Regions from separate parts of the Homo sapiens genome. Here region 2 is linked to region 1. The links are contacts of gene promoters, found by promoter capture Hi-C in human tissues and cell types (Jung and others, 2019). All regions are on one chromosome and are shown on one strand. Each heading gives the region's core, a stretch centred on a gene start or on the middle of the fragment in contact. The rest is flanking DNA. Distances are from core to core; before and after follow the strand shown.

Region 1 (6,078 bases), core at 1,021-3,520:
ATTTCCTCACTATACATATTCTACATGTAGAGAATAGAATTTTATACTATACAGGAATCAGTCTTAATAATCTGGTTAACAGGTAGGCTCTCTTCCTCTACACAGCCCTTTACTTGATATGTCCACAGGAATCCTTTTAAATAAGTAGGGGTGCAGATCAACATGGATATGACTATTAGCTCTTCTGACCCATCTCACAAGTCAGTGTCAACAGTTATCTATTACTATAATGTTGTATCCTAGGTAAGAGTCTCCATTATTGTTCTAATTATTTGGAATCTATAAAAAGAGTGGGTATGTGCAGCAAAGAATTAACCTTACCCAAAGAGGGGTCCAGTCTTCGCTCCTGGCTACTGGGAGGTGATCTCTAGGCGCCTGGGATGTCCTGCCTGATAGAAGTGTCTTTGTCTGTGGGCTTTGGCCACCAGACAGTCTATCAACATGATTTATAATGGGTGTTTTGATCCACGCTGTATCAGCTCAGACCTCTGGAGCAGCGGGAAACTAAAAGTATTCAGGAGGGGCTGGAGATTAATGGTCAACCACAAGGGCAGTGTGAGATTGAGCCCCAGTAAAAACTCTGGACATCAAAGCCTCAGATAAGCTTCTCTAGTTGCAATATTCTATGCATATTGTCACATATCATGGCTGGGAGGAAGTAATGCAGGTAATGACGTCAATGACTCCACAGGGATAAGATGACCAAAAGCTCTATGTTTGTACCCCTCCTGGACTCTGTCCTATTCATCTCTTTCCTTGGCTGATTAATTTGTATGCCTTCACTATAATAAAATTGGAGATGTGAGCACAGCACTTCCCTGAGCTCTGCGAATAGTTCTAGTGAATCATTGAATGTGAGGGTGGTGATGGGGCCCCTAAGTTTGTACCCAGCTGGTCTGAAGTGAGGTGGTTCTGGGGACCCCTGAACTTGCAGGTAGTGAGTGTTGAAGTTAGGGCAGTTTTTTGTGGACCGTTCCCTCAGACTTCGCAGTTTGGCTAAACTCATTGCTGCGTGATGGTGAAAGTGAGGGTGAGAAAAGATCAGGTAAGATTAGGTATGATTCTTAATGGGGAAGTCTATGAAATTGGTGAGTTCAGGGGCTTGTATTTGGGAAAAGGTACATTTAGGGAAGTCTCTCCTAGATGGGAGGTAAGAGATCAAAATTCTGCCAGAAAAATTAGATCCCTTTGACGAGTAAGACCCACTTCAGACCAACTGAGTGACAGTCCTGACAGAGTGACCTTAGACAAATGACTTCAAGACTTAGTCAAATGCAGCTATTATATATGTGATAGTTAAAACCGATGATATATGTGGAAATATCTTAAAGTTACCTCACATAAATGTGAAAACAAAATGCCATGATCATTTCAGAAACATCTGAGTGCAACTATTACAAATTGAGCTGTATTGGACAAGACTTTCTTGACATTTCCCCTCTCAAATTAAAAAGGTCTTTCACTAAGTTTTTAAATGTCACATTTTTTCATTCCAAGTTATCTTGATTTTTCTGTGTGTTCTCCAATGAGGAACATTTAGATCTAAAAAACTGGGGTGTTTAAGAAAAGCAATTCACATATTTCAATTTGTCTCCAAATTTCTTATCACCTCCTAGAGTGTCCGATTTGTCTCTCCTCCACTCCCGACGTCATGGGTTCAAATTTTTCAGAATATAACATTTAAAAATGATGCCTCAGCGTGAGGTTAATTTTTCTGAAGTAAAGGTTCCGGGTGAACGGTTTTAGAGTTTTCCCAGAGGCAGAAAGTCCTGCTTCTGGGGCGTAACCTACAGGGTAAGTCACCGGGAGTGTGCTGGGCCGTGGGGGAAGGTCTGGGTGGGCATTTTTGGGAGCCTCTCGCGAGTTGGAGGGAGTCTAGGGGCGGCGCACCAAATGGGTGAGCGTCGGTGAATCGGCGCGCGGGACCTCGCTCGGAAGTGGCGCGGCTGGGCAGGGCAGGGCCGGGGGAAGCCCGTTTCCCACCTGGATTAAGATGGATCCGACAGGGTCGTGGTTTTCAGTGTTCTGTGCCATGGCTAGGTCAGGGAACGGCTACCTCCGCGGAGGCGCGGTTTCCAAGCACGGAAACCTTCAGCCGGAGCCGCTCGTCCCCATGGCAACACCGCGCGCGACCTGGCCTGTTCCACGCTGGGAGCGGAAGGGGGTCTAGGGGCGGGGTCAGGCCAGCCTGGTCATTCCGAGAACGCCCTCTCCGGCCTGTCTCCCCCTCGCGCCGGCGGCCGTGGTGCAGCCCAAGGCGGAAGCGGCTGCCTGACGGAACCGGCTCGCGAGCGCAGCTATGGCTGCTGGCGTACCCTGTGCGTTAGTCACCAGCTGCTCCTCCGTCTTCTCAGGAGACCAGCTGGTCCAACGTGAGTAGATAGGCGCCTGGGCCGACCTCCAAGGCCCCTGAGCCTCAGCGGGCGACGGACCCAGCACCACGGCCTCTCTGGGCCTTGTCCCCGCAGCGGGCCCTGCGTTCTTCCTCCAGTCAGTGGAGGCGCCCAGTCTCCCCAGGTGGCTGCCCCTATCTCTTAATCTCGTGCTTTTCTGCCCACTCGGCCTTCTTCGGCGTTCCTTTCGGCTTCCTGTGTAAAGTGAGACTGATTTCCCGCTCTGCTCAGCCCAGGCCACAGGTTTTTGCGAGGATCCGTTGAGATGAACCTGAAGGCTCTCCGGAAATTGCGCTAGGTTACAGGAGTGTAAGGTGCTGGAATTGTTGATATCGTGATGTTGTTATCCTTGCTGCTCCGGGAGAGAGTGTTTACTCTGAATTCTGAAGTTTATTCTGCGTATTTACTCTGAAGTTTATTCTGCTTCTTAATGTGTACATTATAAGACTTGTTAGCTTTGTCCGCTCCACTCTAGTTATTCACGCCTTTCATCTGAGGCATGGGCTCTCCGCCAACATGAGTTTTTGGGTATGATTGGGCTAGTGCTTTTGCTTGTAGACCCTCATAATGGCTGTCAGACTTACTAACTCTTAAAAGAGAGAACATGGGACTGGATAATAAGCCAACTCTACTAAAGGGCTCTGTGAAGTTGAATTATAGGTAACTCAAGACTTCTGTTTTAAGTGTATGGCTTAGAATCAGAGCAGTGACTTAGCTGTATGATCTCGAGCAAGTCACCTAACCTACCTACATTCCTTCCTTCTTTTCTTTTTTTTTTTTTAAAGAGACGGGAACTTGCTCTGTCGCCCGGGCTGGAGTGCAGTGATGCGATCATAGCTCACTTCAGCCTCGAACTCCTGGGCTCAAGCGATCCTCCTGCCTCAGTCTCCCGAGCAACTGGGACTGCAGGCTCACACCACGAACCCTGGCTAATTTTTTTATTTTTTGTAGAGCCAGAGTCTTGCTATGTTGCTCAGGCTGGTCTCCAACTCGTGGTTTCAAGTGATCCTCCTGTCTTGGCCGCCCTAAGTGCTGAGATTACAGGCGTGAGCCACTGTGCCTGGCTACCCTTCACTTTCTCTTTTCTCTCCTTTTTTTTATTTTTGTTTTGAGATAGGGTCTCACTCTGCTGCCCAGGCTGTAGTGCAGTGGCGTTATCTCGGCTCACTGCAACCTCTGCCTCCTGGGCTCAAGCCATCCCCCTACCTCAGCCTCCCAAGTATCTGGGACTACAGGTGTGTGCCACCACGCCCGGCTAATTGCCCCCCCCCCCCCCCGTCATACGGGGTTTGGCCATGTTGCCCAGGCTGGTCTGGAACTCCCGGGCTCAAGTGATCTGCCTGCCTTTGCCACCCAAAGTGCTGGGATTACAGGTGTGAGTCACCACCGCGCCCGGCCCCTTCACCTTCTATCTATAAAATAGGGATAATTTTCGCAAGATTGTGCTTATCCCCGAGTCTGGCACATAGTAAACATTTGATAAATCATAGACATTATTATTAAGGCACATTACTATCTCTGTAACCCTCAATTTCCTGATCCTTAAAATGGGGCATATGAGCCTATTTCAGGAGTATTTGAAGGACAGATGATGTGACATTTTGAACACACTTTGTAAACTGTAAAGCATTGTATAATTATAATTTCTTTGCTACACCTGTCAAATGACAGAATTAGGTAAGATGTCCCTTCAGTGCAGATATTATATGACTTAGTTATCATTTGTGATCACTTAGAAAGTTCCTTGCTAGGGTAAAAGCTTAATTATAGCATTTAACTAAGTGGTTACTAACTGGTCTAATTAGGCCATTTTCTTACCTTTAAGCAGTGCTCCTTCCTATTTTCTCCCTTCCCTCCTTTCTTCCTTCTTTTCTTCCTTCCTTCCTCTTTTTTCTTTAATTGTTTCATTGTAAAACTAGTGCATACTAAGTAAAATTTAGCATACAGAGAAAAGAAAATAGCCATAGTCTCATTACCCAACTACAAATACTGCTAACATTTCTTTCCAGTCTTTTTTTCCATTGCAGTTTCTTAAAAAGAAATAATTGTAATTACATTTAATACACAATTTTTTCTGTTTTTAAAAATTTTTTAAATACACAGTTCTTATCCTCAGATTTATCAAAAATTAGTTTCTCACATATATCCATCTAGTGAATAAACCAGAATTTGCTCAAGATTCTTAAAGATGTAACTAACTTTCCAAAAGACTTACATGCATTAGGAATCCTATTAGCGATACATGGAAGTCTTTTCAAGACAATCTCAGGAATATTAATTATTCTAAATGCTATGGTGCTCTGTTGTGTGCTTTAATGATCCCAATCGGCAAACATGGTCCCTGCCTTGAAGTAGCTGATTACCTGTAGTTAGCAAATAGTAACATTGTACTTCTGTAAAGTGTATTAGCATTATTGGGGGTAAAATTAATTCTGTAAAATAATCCATTTTATCTCTGTATATAAAATGCTCTTAGATAATTCCAGTTCGGGTTAAGATCAGATGACCTTTCCATTGCAACTCGTTACTGTCGTGTAGTAAAAAATAAAAGAAGAACAGCTAGTGAGCAGATTACTTGAATAAGGAAAAGTGAACCATAAAAGAGGGCTTATAATTTCTTCCAAGGTTGTGAATAGGGTAGCAGTGGATAGCGTTAAAATGAAGTATTTGCTGAGCATTCATTCTTTGACTATAATTAAAGCTGGGATTAAATTAATCACAGGTTGACTCTAATTTTGAGGTAAGAGATGGAGCCCGCATAATATTTTGTCAAGTGTTCGGTGATATTAGGCCGTGGAATAGTTTTGGATTGAATTGGATCTACCTTTTTGGGAAAGTTTGGTTCTACTTCATGTATCAGCGAGAGAAACCTTTAGGGTTCTCCAATTTCTCTTTCTTTGGACATCTGATCTATCTTAGTGCTTTTAACCACCAGTGGGAAATATAACCAAGTAACAGCTTATTAGAATTATTCTTAAAACAGTCCAAATGCAGTGGTGCATGCTTGGAATTCCAACACTGTGGGAGGCCAGGACGGGAGGATCACTTGAGCACAGGAGTTCAAGACCAGCCTGGGCAACATAGGGAGACCTAGTCTCTACAAAATAAAAATAAAAATGTTAACAAATTAGCCGGGCATAGTGGTATGTGCCTTTCGTCCTAGCTCCTTGGGAGGCTGAGGTGGGAGGATTGCTTGAGCCTGGGAGATCGAGGCTGTAGTGAGTTGTGATGGTGCTACTGCCCTCCAGCCTAGGTGACAGAGTGAGACCCTGTCTCAAATACACACACACACACACACACAGACACACACACACACACACACGCACTTAAAATAAGAATCAGTAGGCCTCTACTATGCATAAAGTGCATGCATGGACTTCATTAGAAACTTTTTCTTTTTGTCACTCAAAGGCCTTATTTGCAGTATTCTGGGTGGATGTCTGACATCGGATAAAAGGGGCATTACTGACGGGGTAGATTTTTTATTTTATTTTATTTTATTTTAATTATTGAGACGGAGTCTCACTCTGTTGCCTGGGCTGGAGTGCAGTGGCACGATCTCGGCTCACTGCAAGCTCCGCCTCCTGGGCTCGCGCCATTCTCCTGCCTCAGCCTCCTGAGTAGCTGGGACTACAGGCGCCCACCACCAAGCTCGGGTAATTTTTTGTATTTTTTAGTAGAGACG
Region 2 (6,468 bases), core at 769-3,268, 100 kb after region 1:
GTTGCCCAGGCTGGAGTACAGCGGAGTGATCTTGGCTCACTGCAACCTCCAGTTCAGGTGATTCTCCTGCCTCAGCCTTCTGCGTAGCTGGGATTACAGGCATGCACCACCACGCCTGGCTAATTTTTGCATGTTTAGTAGAGACGGGGTTTCACAATATTGGCCAGGCTGGTCTCAAACGCCTGACCTCAGGTGATCCACCTGCCCCAGCCTCCCAAAGTGCTTGGATTACAGGCGTGAGCCACTGCACCTGGCCAAACAGAAGCAATTTACACCTCAGAGCAAGCGTTTACCCAGCACTTCTCACTCAGTAACTCACTGGATAAAGGGATCCTGCAGGCTGAGTATCTCATCACTCCCATTTTACAGATGAAAAATTTTTGATGCTGAGTGACTTGCCCAAAGTCACCCAGCAAGGAACAGTGCCTGGGCTTGAACCTAGATGTTACACTCCAAACTCAGTTCTCTATGACTACAAAGCACACTGGGTTTAAATCAGCAGAGATTCTCTTTTGGCTGTGGTGAGAGCCCCTCCCTTCCCCCATGCAAAGAAGACGGTTAAATATTGAAGGAGGAGGAGGAGGAGAGTGTTTAGGGCTTTTCTATTTAATAGCTTTGGTCTTCACAAACTTTTTTCTCCAAGCACCAAGTTGATGGGGATTGCTTTTTCTTGAGTGTCAGCAGGATCATAGAACTTTCAAGTCACAAATAAAAGATGCTACAAAGATCTGGGTTGGTCTGTGACTACTGGAAGAAAGGGAAAAGTTGCCAGGCTTCACAGAATCTTCTGGGTGGCCATTTCACTCTGCTGAAAATTAGGCCTGACAATGGTTTATGTTTTTTTAAGAGATCACTCATGGACCCATTCAGCATACTCACAGCCCTTGGCAACGTTCTGATGGGCTTAAGGCAACAGTGGACTTCACCTCAGCTTTCATTAAAATCCCTCACCCCCAAAAGCTGACCTCCAACAATACAGGAAGCTTGAAATGGAGTAAGTCACAAAGCCAGGTGTGTTTAGACCCATCTTCTCATTCTGGGTGATCTGGGCCTCTCGCTCGGCAGCAGGCCTGTTCATGTAGCCAACACTTAGAGTCTTCTCTGTTTCCAAACTACTTTGGGGAATCAAATTAATTTGCATTGTCAGTTTGAGGGAGAAGAAAATAACCCATAGGACAGAAAGGATTCCTTCATTCTACGACAACATGATGTTCCATTTGGTGGAAACAAAAATGAGTATTTAGGTAAAAACATTTATCAGCCCCAAAACTCTAACTTTGTAAAAACAGAATAGAAGATACTAGAGGCTGAAAAGTGTAAAGGGAACAGAGGGATGGGGAGAAATTTGTTAAAGGTCTCAAAATTACAGCTAAAGAGGAAAAATCAGTTCTAGTGTCCTAAACCACTGTAAGATGATTATACTTAACAATAATATATTATATAGCTTCAAATATCTAGCAATCATATATTACAATATTATTATTACATAGTTTACAATTATTATGTAATATATGATTGTTACTATGTATAATCATATATTACATAGTTTCAAATAGGAGAATATTGAATGCTTATATAGTAACATACATAGTAACATTCATATATTACATAGTTTCAAATAGAAGGAGGATATTGAATGCTTCCAACCCAAAGAAATGATAAATGCTTGACAGGATGGAGATGCTAATTAACCTGATGTGATCACCATAATGACATTAATATGTATCAAAACATCACTATGTATCCCATGAATATGGACAATTATTTGTCAATTTAAAAAAATCAAATATTTTTCAAAAACTCTAACTTTAGAGGGAAAGGAAAAAGGGAAAATAGCCTGGGTGCAATGGCTCATGCTTGTAATCCCAGCACTTTGCGAGGCTGAGGTGGGTGGATTACAAGGTCAGGAGTTCGAGACCAGCCTGGCCAACATAGTGAAACCCTGTCTCTACTAAAAATACAAAAATTAGCCGGGCATGGTGGCGCAAGCCTGTAGTCCCAGCTACTCAGGAGGCTGAGGCAGGAGAATCGCTTGAACCCAGGAGGTGGAGGTTGCAGTGAGCCGAGATTGTGCCACTGCACTCCAGCCTGGGCAACAGAGAGAGACTCCGTCTCAAAATAAATAAATAAATAAATAAATAAAAGGGAAAATGGGGAGAAAGAGCTATTGGAGACTGTGAGATAATGGTCTCATCTTAGACCCTCTTCTCCAAAGAAAAGAAAACAGGCTTAGAGGTGGCAAGGTAGAACTGAAACACAAATCTGGGCCTTCCACTAATATATGAATGTCTTAAGACTGAGATATAAGGCCTGGCGTGGTGGCTCACGTCTGTAATCCCAGCACTCTGGGTAGCCAAGGTGGGCAGATCACCTGAGGTCAGGAGTTCCAAGACCAACCTGGCCAACATGGTGAAACCCCGTCTCTACTAAAAATACAAAAAAATTAGCCAGGCATGGTGGTGGGCACCTGTAATCCCAGCTACTGGGGAGGCTGAGGCAAGAGAATCACTTGAACCTGGGAGGTGGAGGTTGCAGTGAGCCGAGATTGTGCCACTGCACTCTAGCCTGGGCGACAGAGAGAGACTCCATCTCAAAAAAAAAAAAAAAAAAAAAAAAAAGACTGAGAAATAGCTTTGCTCTCTTAATAAAAAAAAAAAAAAAAAAAAAGCAGGACATGGAAAAGTCCCCTCCCCTGACAACTGCAATTTCTCAAGTCTTATCTGCCGGCAAACCTCACTATTAGTTCAACTTCACAAAACAAACAATTCTTATTACAGGACTCTTAGTCATTCTGTTTTTCACTTTCTTCCACAGAGCAGAAGCCATTAGGTCTGGGTATCCTCTCTCTGCCCTCTTTTCCCAGACCTGGTTCCCAGCCTCCCGCCTCCTGCAGTCAGGTCTGCCCGAATCGGAGCACCATGAATCACTTCCTGTGGGCAGACTGCACGCTTGGGGGTGGGATTTACTTTCTTTCTTTCTTTCTTTTTTTTCCTGGAAAAGATTCTCACAGACTTTTGGGGTAAAACAAGTGGAACCAGGCGATGATAACTGGCGGCCTTGTTCTATCAAAACAAATCTTAAAGTTTCCAAAGACTTAGAGAAAATGTCAGGCGGGCATTCCTGACTGGGGGCGGGGGTTGGGGAGAGGTGAAGAGGGCAAATGAGGAGGTTTTGTGTTAATTGCACAGTTTTGACTTCCTTAATTATGAGTCACCGGCTAGAGAGATAAAACAATGTCACAAGTGCTGCATAACATGCAACGGGTCAACCGGGCGACTCAGTGACATTCACGCGGAGAGGCAGTGCCTCAGGACAAGCGCTCACTCCAGTGATTTTACAACAATTCCTAGCAAATGTCACACAGTATGGTTGGGACATTTACAACCATCTCAGTCTTATGACATTTACAACTCAGTCTCTTCTTTTTAAAAGAAGCCCCAAAGCCTTCAGGATTTGCAAACCTTTCAGTTAGCCACTGTTGGGTATGAATGGGGAGCTGGAAGTAAAGGAAGGGTGGGAAATGACCATGTTTCTTGAAAAAGTTAGTTTAAGGACCATGGAGGTAAAGAGGTACCTTTACATGCAAAAAATGCAGCATTTGCATGACAGCAATTGCTAACGTTCCATACACATTCTCTTGCTTTCTGAACCAAAGCTTTACAAGCTTATATAAGCAGTTTCCATCCCAAATGGTAACAAAGAATGGGTGCCCTGTATATTCTGGCATCTGTACCCTGAGGACAGTTAAGTGGCCAATTAGCATTCCTTTCTGTCTAAGGGTACAGACCTCCTATTGTACCTAAAAAAAAAAAGGTTCTGGTTCATTGGGGCAATTCACCTAAGACAGCAAAGAACCCCTATGGGCAGGAAAACAGGAATTCCACACAAGCAAGAAAGGAGGACTTCAGAGAAGCCAGGCCCACACTTAACAATGTCAGGGTGGCAACAGCCCTCCTCGATTAAGCCGGCCTCATCAACTAAGTGGCCCTTGTCTGAAAGCTGCATCCCTAAAACAGCTACAATCAGGAACAAGCAAAGGGTTCCAGGTGAGGCGTCCTCCCGCTGGGTCCTAGATACTTACAACTCTCCCCGGTATCAGCCCACCCAGTCCCAGCTGAGATTCAGAGCACCTGCCCACCCACCACCTCACCCCCACTTCCTAGACAGGCCTAATTTACAGGCATAGAAACTCAAAATGCTGAACAGGCCCAAGTAGTGGAGGTAAAATGTTGCAGCCACAGTATCTGAATGTGAGGCTCCTGCACTCTTGGCCACCAGCATAGTGCGCTGAGGTGCAGGTGGGGACAGAGCCCTTGGAGGTCCAATTATCTTCCAGCTCAAACAGTAACCCACTCTGTGGCTCTCTGCTAAGAATGACCTCTCTCCATCCTCCCCTCCTCGAACTCTTACAGTCCACCATCCCCACTGTCCCACACTCTTCAAATTCATCATCATTTAGCACCAAAGGCCTGGTATGATGAAGTGACTTCTGTGTGTTTCTGACTTCCCTTCCCAACTGTGCCAGGAGCTCCTTGAGGGAAAGGAAACCTAGCTTAACTTTGCCTGCATCCTGGATGGAGCGAGGGGCTTGCAGGTCACATTTGCTCAGAAAATAGTAATGGTAATGGAATTATTAGCTGATAGCGTGCATCAGCAACTGGTAAGCTTCATAGTACCTTTCAGAAGACGTAGGAAATAAGCAAAGATCTCAGGCTGCCCACCAGCCTTGTGAACCCGATCAAGAAGTCAAGCCTCATAGCAAAGGGATCCACAGACGCACATTACTGCCATGGGCCCAATACCAGAAATGTTCTTTAAGCAATCAGCTGGTCTTGAGAGGTGCAATTAAAAACAGCAGGGGAATGACAGCCACAGGTGCCAGTTAGGCGAAAGCAACCAGCGGGGAAGTGCAGGAAGCTAAAATGTTTTTGAATGAGGAAGCTCTGCCCACTTGCCATACCAGGGAGAGAGAGTCATCTGTGGCTAAGGTTGTAGGCAGACATTAAATACAGCGATTTGCAATAAACTTGCTCAACAAATATTTGTTAACTGGAGATTTTTATCAAGTGTTGGATTTAATAGAGGAGAAAGCACACAGATATATGGCCCACACTGGGGATGGACTGGAGCCCTGGCTGCTCATTAGATGACAGGGGTGTGTGTGGCCCTCCCTCTGGCTGTGCTACCGACTCATGGAGGAGTCTTTAGGTATGGATTATCTCATTTAAAAAATGATGGGTTCAACGGATCTCTAGTGTCTTCTCACCTTCTAGTACCTTCTAGCATTCCAAATACCTGTGAAATACACTAATTTGCAGGGGGAAGTGGCTTAAAGGTGTTCTGTGTCTACACTTCTCATTCCTTCAATGCTTTTAGGCACCTAGGGCCTTGGAGAAAACCTGAATCATAATATAGCAGCAGAGCAAATAAGTAATCAAAAATGTGGACTACCAACAAAAATTCCTCTTCCCTACTGTACATGGAGCAACAAACAGAAAGGATGAGAGAGAAAACTTCAGAACTTTGACTCTTTCTGCAGGTTAGAAGCAAACACAAAAGCCAAGTAAGCCCCAAACCCGACGCCAACATCAACTAAACAGTGGCAGTCGTAGCTGTCATGTGGGATATAAAGGAATTAAATTGATTTCAAACAACTTCCTGAGAGAGGAGGTTGCTTTAAACCAGAAAGGTGAGGGAGGCTGCAGAATTACTGACCTCAAAAATCAGAGGTCATGGAATGAATGAGACAGGTAGACAGGTTCCAGACATGCTCACATCTGTGGCTGGTAGAACTGGACCTGGACACGACACTGGGGCGGGGGCAGTGGAAGGGTGGTGTGCAAATGTCCTTTTGCAGAATATTCCAGCCTCAGAACCACAGGACTTTGGAGCTGGTGGGGGGCATTTCACCACCACCTTCTTTTCCCCCTGAACACGTGAGGAAACTGGGGCCCAGGAAAGGATGGCATTTACCCAGGGATCCTTCTGAGTGAGCTCCTATGTTGTTTTTTTTCTACTCCAGGAATCATGACCCCAAAACTATGGCCCCAAATAGAAAACTCAGCTGTCGGTGTAACTGAACAAAGAAGCTAACACCACAATAAAGGGCAGGAGCTTCCATCAAGAGCAGAAAGAACAGAGTGGTTTCTGTGGAGGAGCGGCTGTGCCTGGCATTTCCCACCCTGCACACACCCAGCTGTTGGGGCCACAGTCCACTGCAGCCTGTCTTTCAAGTCGGCCCGGCTGTCAAGCCTGGGCCCATCTCCCGGGCTCTGTAAACAGTTCTGGCTCTCTCTCTCTCTTCCCTCCTCTACTCTCAGAACACCACACATCACTGGGGCCTGGATTGTTTGGTAACAATGGAGGGGAACGTTAAACAAGAGTTGACGACGGGAAGTGAATCACTGAATTCTCAAACAGGCTCCGTGGAAGGAGCAAAGAACTGTGGGAGGGGCCCCTGGCAGGGCC

What was found. The method cuts DNA at HindIII sites, captures the fragments that hold promoters and counts their contacts. A contact is called where the count stands out against the background at its distance.
Region 2: a fragment that was not itself captured here is called in contact with the fragment with the promoter of AAGAB in region 1 in 6 of the 25 tissues and cell types used here (H1 embryonic stem cells, IMR-90 fibroblasts, aorta and 3 more).

What each region holds. Positions count from the first base shown.
Region 1 is chr15:67,250,853-67,256,930 of GRCh38, reverse strand. AAGAB (alpha and gamma adaptin binding protein) reads left to right here and starts at 2,270. Exons shown (of 10, transcript NM_024666.5): 1 at 2,270-2,372. The coding sequence starts at 2,300. It overlaps IQCH (IQ motif containing H), which reads right to left and starts at 2,145. Exons shown (of 21, transcript NM_001031715.3): 1 at 1,984-2,145. The coding sequence starts at 2,034. RefSeq lists an enhancer at 2,210-2,529. The HindIII fragment of the contact is 6,332 bases long and covers 1-6,078 here.
Region 2 is chr15:67,146,998-67,153,465 of GRCh38, reverse strand. The region is part of intron 1 of SMAD3 (SMAD family member 3); the gene reads right to left. Among named protein-coding and RNA genes, the nearest start is that of SMAD3-AS1, 3.3 kb to the right of the region's middle. RefSeq lists enhancers at 19-188, 2,712-3,519, 4,327-5,134, 6,141-6,435, 5,513-6,447 and 1 more. The HindIII fragment of the contact is 4,294 bases long and covers 1-4,165 here.